3 separate regions of the Homo sapiens genome follow, and all the other regions are linked to region 2. Evidence: promoter capture Hi-C in 16 types of primary human blood cells and fetal thymus (Javierre and others, 2016). All regions are on one chromosome and are shown on one strand. The core of a region is centred on a gene start or on the middle of the fragment in contact, and the rest is flanking DNA. Distances in the headings are between cores, read along the strand shown. Region 1 holds the start of LOC124901705 (a long non-coding RNA gene). Region 2 holds the start of LMTK2 (lemur tyrosine kinase 2). Region 3 overlaps BAIAP2L1 (BAR/IMD domain containing adaptor protein 2 like 1).

Region 1 (3,953 bases), core at 718-3,217, 160 kb before region 2:
TGAGCTCAGGAGTTCGAGACCAGCCTGGGCAACATAGCAAGACCCCATCTCTTTTTTTTTTTTTTTTTTGGAGATGGAGTCTCACTCTGTCGCCCAGGCTGGAGTGCAATGGTGCAACCTCGGCTCACTACACCTTGAACTCCGTCTCCTGGGTTCAAGCGATTCTCCTGCCTCAGCCTCCTGAGTAGCTGGGATTACAGGCACCCACCACCACGCTTGGCTAATTTCTGTATTTTTAGTAGAGATGGGGTTTCACCATGTTGGCCAGGCTGGTCTTGAACTCCTGACCTCAGGTAATCCAACTGCGTTGACCTACCAAAGTGCTGGGATTACAGGCGTGAGCCACCGAGCCTGGCCCCCATCTCTACTTTTAAAAATAAAGAAAAAAGAAAAATAAACTGAAGCCAGGCACGGTGGCTCATGCTTGTAATCCCAGCAATTTGGGATGCCGAGGTGGGCAGATCATGAGGTCAGGAGTTCCAGACCAGCCTGGCCAACACAGTGAAACCCCGTCTCTACTAAAAATACAAAAATTAGCTGGGCATGGTGGCAGACACCTGTAATCCCAGCTACTTGGGAGGCTGAGGCAGGAGAATCACTTGAACCCGGGAGGCGGAGGTTGCAGTGGGCTGAGATCACACCACTGCACTCCAGCCTGGACGATAGAGCTAGACTCTGTCTCCACAAATTAAAAAATTTTAAAAAATAAAATAGGCCGGGCACGGTGGCTCACGCCTGTAATCCCAGCACTTTGGGAGGCCGAGGCGGGCGAATCACAAGGTCAGGAGATCGAAACCATCCTGGCTAACATGGTGAAACCCCGTCTCTACTAAAAATACAAAAAATTAGCTGGGTTCGGTCGTGGGCGCCTGTAGTCCCAGCTACTCGAGAGGCTGAGGCAGGAGAATGGCGTGAACCTGGGAGGCAGAGCTTGCAGTGAGCAGAGACTGCGCCACTGCACTCCAGACTGGGCGACAGAGCAAGACTCCGTCTCATAAGTAAAATAAAATAAAATGAATAAAATAAAATAAAATATAAAATAAAATAAATAAAAAATAAATAAATAAAATAAAATAAATTGAGAGTGCCTAGATGGCAGGGAAGATGCCAGTGGAGATGACTGATGCTCTTTGGGATCTCACTCGATAGTTTTGGAGATTACAAGTGTCATTCAGGGAAAATGAGGCACCTCTGTGACTTTTCTATTCTCTATCAGATGACAATGAAAGTTATCCTGATTGTTGGCCAGGCGAGGTGGTTCACGCCTGTAATTCCATCACTTTGGGAGGCCGAGGCGGGTGGATCACCTGAGGTCAGGAGTTCAAGACCATCCTCGCCAACATGGTGAAACCCCGTCTCTACTAAAAATACAAATCTTAACTGGGTGTGGTGGTGCACACCTGCAATCCCAGCTGCTCAGGAGGCTGAGGCAGGAGAATTGCTTAAACCTGGGAGGTGGAGGTTGCAGTGAGCCAAGGTTGCGCAACTGTACTCCAGCCTGGATGACAGAATAAGACTCCATCTCAGAAAAAAAAAAAAAAAAAAGTTATCCAGACTGACAGAAGGTCTTTCCCTATGGGATCTGTTAGCTGTGGTTTAATTTATGATGGCATGTTCTCACTTATATGTGGGAGCTAAACGATGGGTACCCACAGACATACTGAGTGGCAGAATAGACATTGGAGACTGAAACAGGTGGGAGGGCAAGAGGGGGGTGAGGTCTGAAAATCACCTGTTGGGTACAATGTTCACGATTCTGGTGACAGGTGCACTGAAGGCACAGACTTCAGCACTATGCAATACCTGCATGTAAGGCATCTGTCCTTGTGGCTGGCTGGCTGCAGTGTCTCACGCCTGTAATCCCAGCATTTTGGGAGGCCAAGACAGGAGGATTGCTTGAGCCCAGGAGTTTGAGACCAGCCTGGGCAACACAGCAAGACCCCGTCTCTACAAAAAAAAATTTAAAAATTAGCCAGTCATGATGATGTGCACCTGTGTTCCCAGCTACGCAGGGTGCTGAGGTGTTTTAAGGCTGGGAGGTTGAGGCTGCCGTGATTTGTGATCGCGCCACTGCACTCCAGCCTGGGCAGCAGAGCGAGACTCCATCTCAAAAAAAAAAAAAGCCGGGCACGGTGGCTCATGCCTGTAATTCCCTCACTTTGGGAGCCAAGGTGGGCAGATCATTTGAGGTCAGGAGTTCAAGACCAGCCTGGCCAACATGGTAAACCCCATCTATACTAAAAATACAAAAACTAGCTGGGTGTGGTGGTACACACCTGTAATCCCAGCTACTTGTTAGACTGAAACAGGAGAATTGCTTGAACCCAGGAGGCGGAGATTGCAGTGAGCCGAGATCGCGCCACTGCACTCTAGCCTTGGGCAACAGAGCGAGACTCCGTTTCAAAAAAAAAAAAGAAAAAGAAAAAAGAAATCTGTACTTGAACCCCCTGAATACATAAACATTATAAAATTGAAATAATCTATGATGGTAGAGAGAATTGAAGTGGAATTTGAGGCAAACTTGTCCCCAGTCACCAGAGCTCTGAGTTTGGTGACAGGAGGCATCATCTTTGGTTAGGATGAAGCAGAAAAATGACCACTCCCAGGTTGAGATGGAGAGGTCACTTCCTTTGGTCAGTAAGGGAGCGGCTTTCAGGACTCACCCCCAAGCAATGATGTTTGGGGGGACCCTCTCAGGGCCTATAAGGATCTGGGTCTCCTCCTCTCCGTCATTATTCTATTTTGCCAGCAGTGCCCAGAACTCGGTTCTGCTTCAAGCCGCAGAGTGGAGGAGAAGGCACCGAGGCTTGGAGATGCTGTTTCATAGAGTCTTGGCTTTGCAGCACATGTGAGCTTGGGGGGCAGCAGTGGGGAGGGGTTCTCCAAAGAAGAGAGGCTGCCATGGGCGAAGAGACAGAGGGAAGGAGCCCCCAGGGCCTCCCGATGCCACTGTGGCAGGAGGGTCCCCTCTCCACTCCCCCATCCCTTCTCCCCAGCAGGTAGCCCCCATCCTCTCTCTGGCCCAGCCCACCCTCCACTGCCTCCCTGGTCTGTTCCGGGGGCTCCTACCTTCAGCTTGCACTGTGGAGGCCATGGCTGTTCTTGGGGACACGCCCAGGAATGATGCGGGGATGCCTCAGTACGGGGCAGCGGAAAGCCCCCTTAAACTCCAGCAGAAGCCAAGCAGTCACCGGTGGGCCAGCGACCGACATGAAGGAGGGACCGGACAGATGGCCAGGGGGAAGGAGCCATCGGGGGCGTTGGGAGGCCCGGGAGGAACTGGACAGAGCCAGGTCTCACCGGGGACAGAATGCGGCCTCACAATCCTGCCCCACCGCCAAGATTCTCAGGTTCTGAGCCTGGAGTCCGACTGCTAGCCAGCGACTCATGGCGCCCACAGCCAGGTACCACCCCTCAGAGCCAGGATGGTTTGGGGAGAAGCTGGATTAATACCAATGCCAAGGGAATCCTTGATAAAAACCCTGACTTATGAGAATTGGCAACGGAGAACCAGCCACATGAACACAATGTGACAAGACAATGCCCAAGTTGCCAAGTGACAAATGCCCAAGCCAGCAGCCCAGTTTCAGGCTTTCCCTGAGGCCCTAGAAAGTGTCTTCAGGGGCCAGGCGTGGTGGCTCACGCCTGTAATCCCAGCACTTTAGGAGGCTGAGGCCAGCGGATCACCTGAGGTCAGGAATTCGAGACCATCCTGGCCAACATGGTGAAACCCTGTCTCTACTTAAAATACAAATAATTAGCTGGGCGTGATGGTATGCACCTGTAATCCCAGCTACTAGGGAGGCTGAGACAGGAGAATCACTTGAACCCGGGAGGCAGAGGTTGCAGTGAGCCGAGATCGCGCCATTGCACTCCAGACTGGGGGATAAGAGCGAGGCTTCATCTCAAAAAAAAAAAAAAAAAAAAAAAGAAAGTGTCTTTAGGGTCAGTTG
Region 2 (4,068 bases), core at 318-2,817:
TAGCTTTCATCGTAGATTTGTTTGAAAAATATGTCTTTACTGGAGACAGTACATCCACATTCTGTACCCAATTAACATTATTCCAAAATAACTCTTGACCTCGAGAGTATTCCAAAACAGTTACAAGACTTAAAAAAAATCATACAACTAGGGGTATCTAAGACCTGGCTTTGGGGCTCTGCCTACAACGAAGCTGTGTCACCCTGGGTAGGTCATTTGACCCAACATGCCCAGTATCTCCTACTACGTAAAGAAGAAATTGGTCTAAATTTTCTTTAAGGTCTCTTCTAACTCTAACATTCTATGAATGTATGAAATTTCAATCTTTCCCCATTTCAAAGGTAATGGCGGCAGTCAATAACGCCAAGTTAGCCTAGATTTTTTTTTCCTTTTTAGAAAAATGACCCAACTTGGGATGTTTTCTTGGGTTGAAGTTTTATTTAGGAAAATAAACCCCAAATAAAAACGATGTTGAGAAAATGGGCGGGGGGGGAGAAAAGAAAATCATACACTGACGTTAGCTAAAATAGAAACTTCCATCACCCTTAAGCCAGTTTGTCAATAGTTATTCAACGCCTGCTACTCTAATCACTGGCTTCCTAAAATAGAAATATTTATAGTTGTTTCCTTCTCATCCCCGGAGATACATTCCGAATAAAAAGCACAGCGTCTAAAATCAATTTACAACTTCAGAATAAGTTGCAAGGAGCGAAAACAAACTCCGCACAGCTCGCCAAGTCATTTGCATTTAAGTATGATTAGGGCTAAGAAACGGTTCTTATGAGATGCGAAAAAAAAGCACAAGAGGCAGGTGACATCTGGAAAGGGAAGCTGAACTGCCAGGAAGCGATATAAGCTGAGGATCTTAAGGCAACAGGTCCAGGGCCGGCACCGCAGCCTATCCCGGGAGGGGTCGGTGGCTGCTACCTCGCCCGCCGCCCTCCCCAGCCCCAACGACGTCGCCTCGCTCCCGCCCCCCCAAATCCCACGCCCCTGCGGCAGAAATCTCCCTAATCACTCGCCTCCCTGGGCTTCCCGCCCCCGGCAGGCCCTCCGATTCCTCGGCGCCGAGGCCGGCCCGGCCCTGCCGCCCCCTCCCCTCCACGCCGAAGACCCCGCAGCCCCGTCCCCGCCGCGGGCCCGCTCACCTGCACCTGTTTGCGGAAGTGGCGCGGCCCCAGCACTGCCGGCGATCAGGAGGACCAGCAGCAGCAGCAGCAGCCTCCGCCGCAACGCCGGCGGCCCCGGCATCTCGCCCACGGCGCGGCTCCGGGGCCGGCCCTCGAGTCGCCTTCCGTCCGTCCGTCCGTTCGCCCGTCAGTCGATCCTGCCTCCCTCCGCTGCCTCAGTGGCACCCGCGCCGGTTGCTCCCGAGCACACGTTGCTTCTGCCAAACCTCGGTCCGGCTCCCGGTCCGCACCTGCCGCTCCAGTCGCAGAAACACCATCCTTCCCGCCCGCCTGCGCCGCCGCCGCCGCCTCTCAACAGCAGCAACGCCAGCAGCCCTGCGGAGCGGCGGGCCTGGGAAGCCGCGCTCCCGCCGCCATGATGGGCTGCGTCATGTGACGTAGCGCGGGGGCGGGATGTCGTGATGGACAGGGCGGCCAGCCACTCGTCAGTCCACACCGGCCCAGGAGGCCCCGCCCATCATCCTGAAGGAGTGAGCGGTGGCGGCCGGTGCGCCCCCTGCAGACGGAGGAGTGCGTGGGCAGCAGGTAACACCAACAATTATTTTAAATTGAAAAATACAGGAAAATGTAAAGAAGACCATGACAATCATCCTGATATTTTTTTCTCGGTGTTTTATAACATGCAAAAATAGGCCTGTCTTGTCTTCTGCCTTTTTTTTTTTTTTACTTGTCAGAGCTGTTTTAGGCTCTTCTCCTTAAGTTGACCTACACATCCTCTCAGCCATCAAACAGCTTTGGGCTTTTCACTTGAATTGATCAAGAGAATGCCTCTCTCGGCATCACCCACTGACTCACCTCCTGAGCTCAAGCTGTTGCCTCTTGTCCACCTGGCAGACACTCTTCCTTTCATCTGTCGAGACTCACCTGACATATGACTTCATCTATGACTCTCTAGGAGAAATGACTGTCATCTCCTTAGTGCCCCGCCCTGGCCCTGTGTGGACTGCTATCCTAGCTGCAGTATCCTATTGACCCGTGACTGTAAGCTCCCTGAGGACAGCAACTGTGTCTGATTCAGCTGGTGGGAAATCCCTGGTGCAGGACCTGGGTCGGAGCAGGTGTTCTCTAAAGCAATGGTGCATGGCCCTGGTCCCAGGTACCAGGGCAGAGCAGCTCCCAGGGGTGGCCTTCTCCCCACCAAGAGGTGAGGTGAGAACACAGTCCTGCAGAGAGGATAGAGAAAGCACTCTCCAGACACAAGTAATATAGTGGTCAGAGGCATGGGGGTTGGGAAAATGCTAAGCTTTTCTGGAGAGGCGCTATGGTTCAGTGTGTGCATGAGAGGAGCTGATTTCAATCTTATCAGATGAGACTTTGCCACCTGGCAACAGTGTAACCTCCCCAATTCTCCAAACTCCCCAAATGTCCATCCTAAATGCCAGCTGTCGATGATGTTAACACAGCACTGGACACACAGATGATGCCCAGGGAATATTTGTTGGATGATTGAGGCAAGCCAATAAATATCTAAGGAGACAAATACCTGGAACGAGAAACATTGAATTTAAAAGTCCATGGCTTGGCTGGGCACGGTGGCTCACACCTGTAATCTCAGCACTTTGGGAGGCCAAGGTGGGTGAATCACTTCAGACCAGGAGTTCAAGACCAGCCTGGCCAACATGGTCATACCCCATCTCTACTAAAAATACAAAAAGTATTAGCCAGACACGGTGACGCATGCCTGTAATCCCAGCTGCTTGGGAGGCTGAGGCAGGAAAATTGCTCGAACCCAGGAGGCGGAGGTTGCGGTGAGCTGAGATCACACCGCTGCACTCCAGCCTGGGCGACACAGCGAGACTCTGTCTTAAAAAAAAAAAAGTTCACGGCTTTCTGCTGATTATATGCAGAATTGGTAAGGAAGGCAAAGGTCTAGGAAAGAGACACAATCACCCTGTTGTACTTCTACTTCTTTTTTTTTTTTCTTTGAGACAGAGTCTGTCTCTGTCACCAGGCTAGAATGCAGTGGTGCGATCTCAGCTCACTGCAACCTCTGCCTCCTGGGTTCAAGCGATTCTCCTGCCTCAGCCTCCTGAGTAGCTGGGACTACAGGTGCCCGCCACCACACCTGGCTAATTTTTGTATTTTCAGTAGAGACAGGATTTCACCATGTTGGCCAGGATGGTCTCGATCTCTTGACCTCGTGATCTGCCCACTCCGGCCTCCCAAAGTGCTGGGGTTACAGGCATGAGCCACCGCGCCTAGCCTATACTTCTACTTCTATCAGGAAGCTTCTCACTTTGAGTTCAGAGAAGCCAGGGACACCCACACTGTGTACTGCAAGGAGGCTCGTGACTGCCTGCTGTAGTGCTGGCCTAAGGAAGGCCTTACCTGATAATCCTGGTAGTGGTTATTTACAACTAAAGTGCACTCCAACAGCACGTTGGACCACAATCCCAAAGTAGATTTTGCTATTATTTGAGCAAGCCCAAAAGTTAAAACAAACAAACAAATAAACAAACTTCTTTTCCTCTTTCACAGAACAGGGGTTACAGTGCACATCCCCCAGATGATGTCTAAAGGCAGCCTTTGCCCCACCACCCACCTCACCGTGTATGCCTTTACTCAATACTTGAAGACTTCCAGTTAGAGATGTTATTAAACAAACAAAAACCTGTTGGCTTTGTTTAGTTTCACCCAGAAGTCAGAAAACAGCCTTTAGCACAATTTGGAAATCAATACCTAAGATTAGAAGCAATATCTTTCAGTGTTTTACAGCCATTCTTTTTTTTTTTTCTTTTTTGAAACAGGGTCTCGCTCTGTCACCCAGGCTGGAGTACAGTGGTGTGATCTTGGCTCACTGCAACTTCTGCCTCCCATGCTCAAGTGATTCTCCTGCCTCTGCCTCCTGAGTAGCTGGGGTTACAGGCGCCCGCCACCA
Region 3 (3,872 bases), core at 951-3,450, 190 kb before region 2:
CAATGGCTCATGTCTGTGTAATTCCAACACTTTGGGAGGCCAAGGCAGGAGGATCACTTGAGCCCAGGAGTTTTAGACCAAACTGGCAACATAGCAAAACCCTATGTAGACAAAAAATATAAAAAATTAGCCAGGTACGGTGGCACATGTCTGTAGTCCCAGCTGTTCAGGAGGCTGTGGTGGGAGGATAGCCTGAACCCAGAAGTTCGAGGCTGCTGTGAACTGTGATCATACCACTGCATGCCAGCCTGGATGACAGAGACCCTGTCTCATAAAAAAAGAAAAATGGTTTACAGTGTAGTTGTTTGAATCTGGATCCAAATCAGCTCCATACATTATAATTGGTGGATAGGGCTCGTGAGGCCTTTTCTAGCTACAGGTCCCCCCTCTGCCTCTTGTCCTTAGCAGTCTCTTTGTAGAAGAACCAGTCATTTGTCCTGGAGGGTGTCCCCCATCTGGATTTTGCTGTTGGTGTCCTTTCTGCGTTCCCCCGTGTCTCCTGTATTTCTGTAAATTGGTAGTTAGACCTCAGGCCCTGCTCAGAGTCTGTTGCTGTTTTGCTTGTTTGACTGTTGTGTTTTGCTGGAGCATTTCACCAGTGAGGAGGCACGTGTGGACGTCCATCTCTTTTTGTGATGTTAGTAGCTGTTGATGTTCGCCTAGCCTGCTGCTTTATTGAGGTTGGATAATGCCTTTTAAGGTAAAAGAATCTTGCCCCCAAAAATCACAGCTCTGGCATTGTAAGTGAGAGCACTGACACTTTGGCCAACCCTGGATAGTCTTCAGTGTTAGAAAATGAAAACGTGTCATTGTCAGCGTATTTATCGTGTGGATAAAGCTTGGTGAAGAAAGTACTGTCGCCGCCATTCTTACTGCAGGGAATTGGATAAATGGAAGAAGCCTGGTTGTAAGTATCAGTGTACTCAGTAATGACAGATTCCTCCTTACTTAGCACTGGGGAGTGGAAAGGTGACCTGGCTTCATTCTTAAACCTCTTCGTTGGCTGGATCATGACATTCTGTCAGTGTCGGGAGACTGCCAGCGCACGGTGCACGCCTCTTACCGGCTTCCCACTTCCTCGGGCAGCAGAGCTTTAAGCACACCACTGTCCCCGAGGGCCCTGACCTGGAGGGTTGGGCTGAGCTGGGGCTGCCTGCAGGGGGTGACCTGGTGCCCTGCAGCCTCCACCAGCGCAGCTGGCCCATGTGGACACCACCACCACCCTTCCCACCTGAGCTGGTATTCTCAGCTCACACCCGCGAGCTTCAGGCTGTCCCCTCCACGGGAGAGATTCCCAGTCATCCAGTCCCCGGCTGCCTCCACAGGCCGCACCTGCCAAAGCTCACTTCCCCAAGACCACCCTCCCTCTAACCCCCACCACACACACAGACGCGCGTGTGCACACACACACACACCATCATCTTCAGGTTCCCCCTTTCTGTCTTGAAAGCTAGAAGGCTTGGCCGGGCACGGTGGCTCACGCCTGTAATCCCAGCACTTTGGGAGTCCGAAGTGGGCGGATCACGAGGTCAGGAGATCAAAACCATCCTGGCTAACACGGTGAAATCCCGTCTCCACTTAAAATATATATATATATATATACCAAAAAAAAAAAGCTAGAAGGCTTTCAGGCTTTCATTTTAGCAGCCTTTCATTTCTGGTTTCATCCAAGAACATTCAAAAGCCCCAGATACCTCATGAGAATGCCCTCCTTATGCGGATTCTAATCATTTCAGTTGTCATTGATTCTGCACGTGTTTGAGTGCTGACTGCTGATTAACTTCATGATCACTGAAATCGATGAGAAGGCCCATCCAGCACAGGGGTGGAGGTGACGCCCACAGGGAGGTCATGTTTATCACTGATGGCAGCTGAGATTTCCTGGGCCGCAGACCTCTGAGGCCAGCAGACTTCTGTCAACACAGTCACATGGCAGTGAGGGTATGGCTGTGGGGGAGGGGTTTTGTGGACAGAGATGAGACCGTCCCATCAGCATTCATCCAGCCGGCCTCTACTGGGCGGCCTAGAGCCAAGCCCTCAGGACACAAAGAGGAATGAGACCCACGCAGGGGTGGAGTCCAGGGAGCGCTCGATGCATGGGGTGAGGACAAGGGGAGAGGCCAGGGTTCCTGGGACGCATCAGGGGAGGCTTCTAGGAGGAAAGCGTCGGAGCCAGGCTCTGAGGCACGAGCTTCGGCAAAAACACAAGGCCTGGGCGTTGCGGTGACTTGGGGGGCTCAAGAGCTGGGGTCGGGCACCAGCCAGAGAGGCAGGATGAGCCTCCACACTGCTGCCTGGCTTCTGGCTGGCCTGCGAGGGGAGTGGTGCCGCCAGCCTGTGGTGCCCTCCTGTCTTTCGTACCTTCACACCCTTCGCACCTCACGGTGGTGCTTCCTGAGCAGTGCCTGTGCTGGGACCTCCTGGGGAGGTAGAGGGATAGCGGGGCCTCGTGAAATGGAGAAAGGGAGGCACAGAAGAATGGCAGCCGCTGTCCAAGGCCCACGGCAGGTTAGAAACCCAGTTCTGAAATCTCAGCCAGCAGCTTCTTGGCCTCCACATCAGTACGCTTTCCTGATAAGACATGGCGCGGTCATCTGCATGCTGTTATTCTAACATCCTATGCAGACTGCAAAAGCATTGCGGGGAGGGACTGCAACTGTCACCCGCATCCAGCCTCTGTAGACAGCACTCCTGTTAGACAAGTGACCACGTTTCATCCAGACCAATCCCAGTCAGGAGTTCCGGGAGCGCAGCTGTGGGAAACAGCCTACAGACGCATTGGTGCTGCTCCAAGGGCGGGAGCAGGGAGCAGGGGGAATGGCTGTGTGTTCTGGGCCTCCTGGCCTCACAGCCTCCTCACCAGCAGGGATCATGGATCAAGCATGTGTGTGTCAGAGACGAGCAGCACAGATGGAAATGTTCCCTGCCCAGTCCAGCAGCCACAGGGCACACAGGGCAGCAGAGCACTTGAAAAACGGATGGTGCAACGAAGGAACTAGACGTTTACATTTGTTTGTTTGTTTATTTATTTATTTATGAGACGGAGTCTTGCTCTGTCGCCCAGGCTGGAGTGCAGTGGCATGATCTTGGTTCACAGCAACCTCCACTTCCCGGGCTCAAGCAATTCTCCCGCCTCAGCCTCCTAAGTAGCTGGGACTACAGGTGCATGCCACCACACCCAGCTAATTTTTGTATTTTTAGTAGATACGGGGTTTCACCATGTTGGCCAGGCTGGTCTCGAACTCCTGATCTCAGGTGATCCTCCCGCCTCAGCCTCCCAAAGTGCTGGGAATATAGGCGTGAGTCACTGCGCCCGGCAAATTTTATTTTAAGTAGCCATATACAGCTAGTGGTTGCCACATTGGACAGTTAGGAATAGATCATACAAAATAGTACAGTGTTCCATTTAAAAACTTGCTCTAGCTGGGCACGGTGGCTCACACCTGTGATCCCTGCTACTTGGAAGGCCAAGGTGGTAGAATCACTTGAGCCCAGGAACTCAAGTCCAGCCTGAGCGACAGAGAAAGGACCCATCTCTCTCTATATATAAAAATAAGCTTGATCCATAACGTGGTGGTCAAGAAGCAGGTACCATGGCTGAGGCTCAAAAGATGGCAGCCTGCCGGGCACGGTGGCTCACACCTGTAATCCCAGCACTTTGGGAGGCCGAGGCGGGAGGATCATTTGAGCCTAGGAGTTCCAGATCAGCCTGGGCAATATAGTGGGACCTCGTCTATATAGAAAATTAACTAAAAAACCAGTCAGGCGTGGTGGCTCACACCTGTAATCCCAGCACCTTGGGAGGCCGAGGCAGGTGGATCACCTGATGTCAAGAGTTTGAGACCAGCCTGGCCAACATGGTGAAACCCTGT

Evidence for each region. The method cuts DNA at HindIII sites, captures the fragments that hold promoters and counts their contacts. A CHiCAGO score of 5 or more calls a contact.
Region 1: a fragment that was not itself captured here is called in contact with the fragment with the promoter of LMTK2 in region 2 in 1 of 17 cell types (neutrophils); the score reaches 6.1 in neutrophils.
Region 3: a contact is called between a fragment that was not itself captured here and the fragment with the promoter of LMTK2 in region 2, in 1 of 17 cell types (neutrophils). The highest score is 5.6, in neutrophils.

Annotation. Positions count from the first base shown.
Region 1 is chr7:98,269,752-98,273,704 of GRCh38, reverse strand. It overlaps LOC124901705 (a long non-coding RNA gene), which reads left to right and starts at 2,742. Exons shown (of 3, transcript XR_007060446.1): 1 at 2,742-2,848. The HindIII fragment of the contact is 5,981 bases long and covers 1-3,953 here.
Region 2 is chr7:98,104,361-98,108,428 of GRCh38, reverse strand. LMTK2 (lemur tyrosine kinase 2) reads right to left here and starts at 1,567. Exons shown (of 14, transcript NM_014916.4): 1 at 1,149-1,567. The coding sequence starts at 1,251. The HindIII fragment of the contact is 4,003 bases long and covers 1-2,435 here.
Region 3 is chr7:98,299,206-98,303,077 of GRCh38, reverse strand. The region is part of intron 12 of BAIAP2L1 (BAR/IMD domain containing adaptor protein 2 like 1); the gene reads left to right. It also overlaps a transcript of BRI3 not described here. Among named protein-coding and RNA genes, the nearest start is that of BRI3, 19 kb to the right of the region's middle. The HindIII fragment of the contact is 2,719 bases long and covers 841-3,559 here.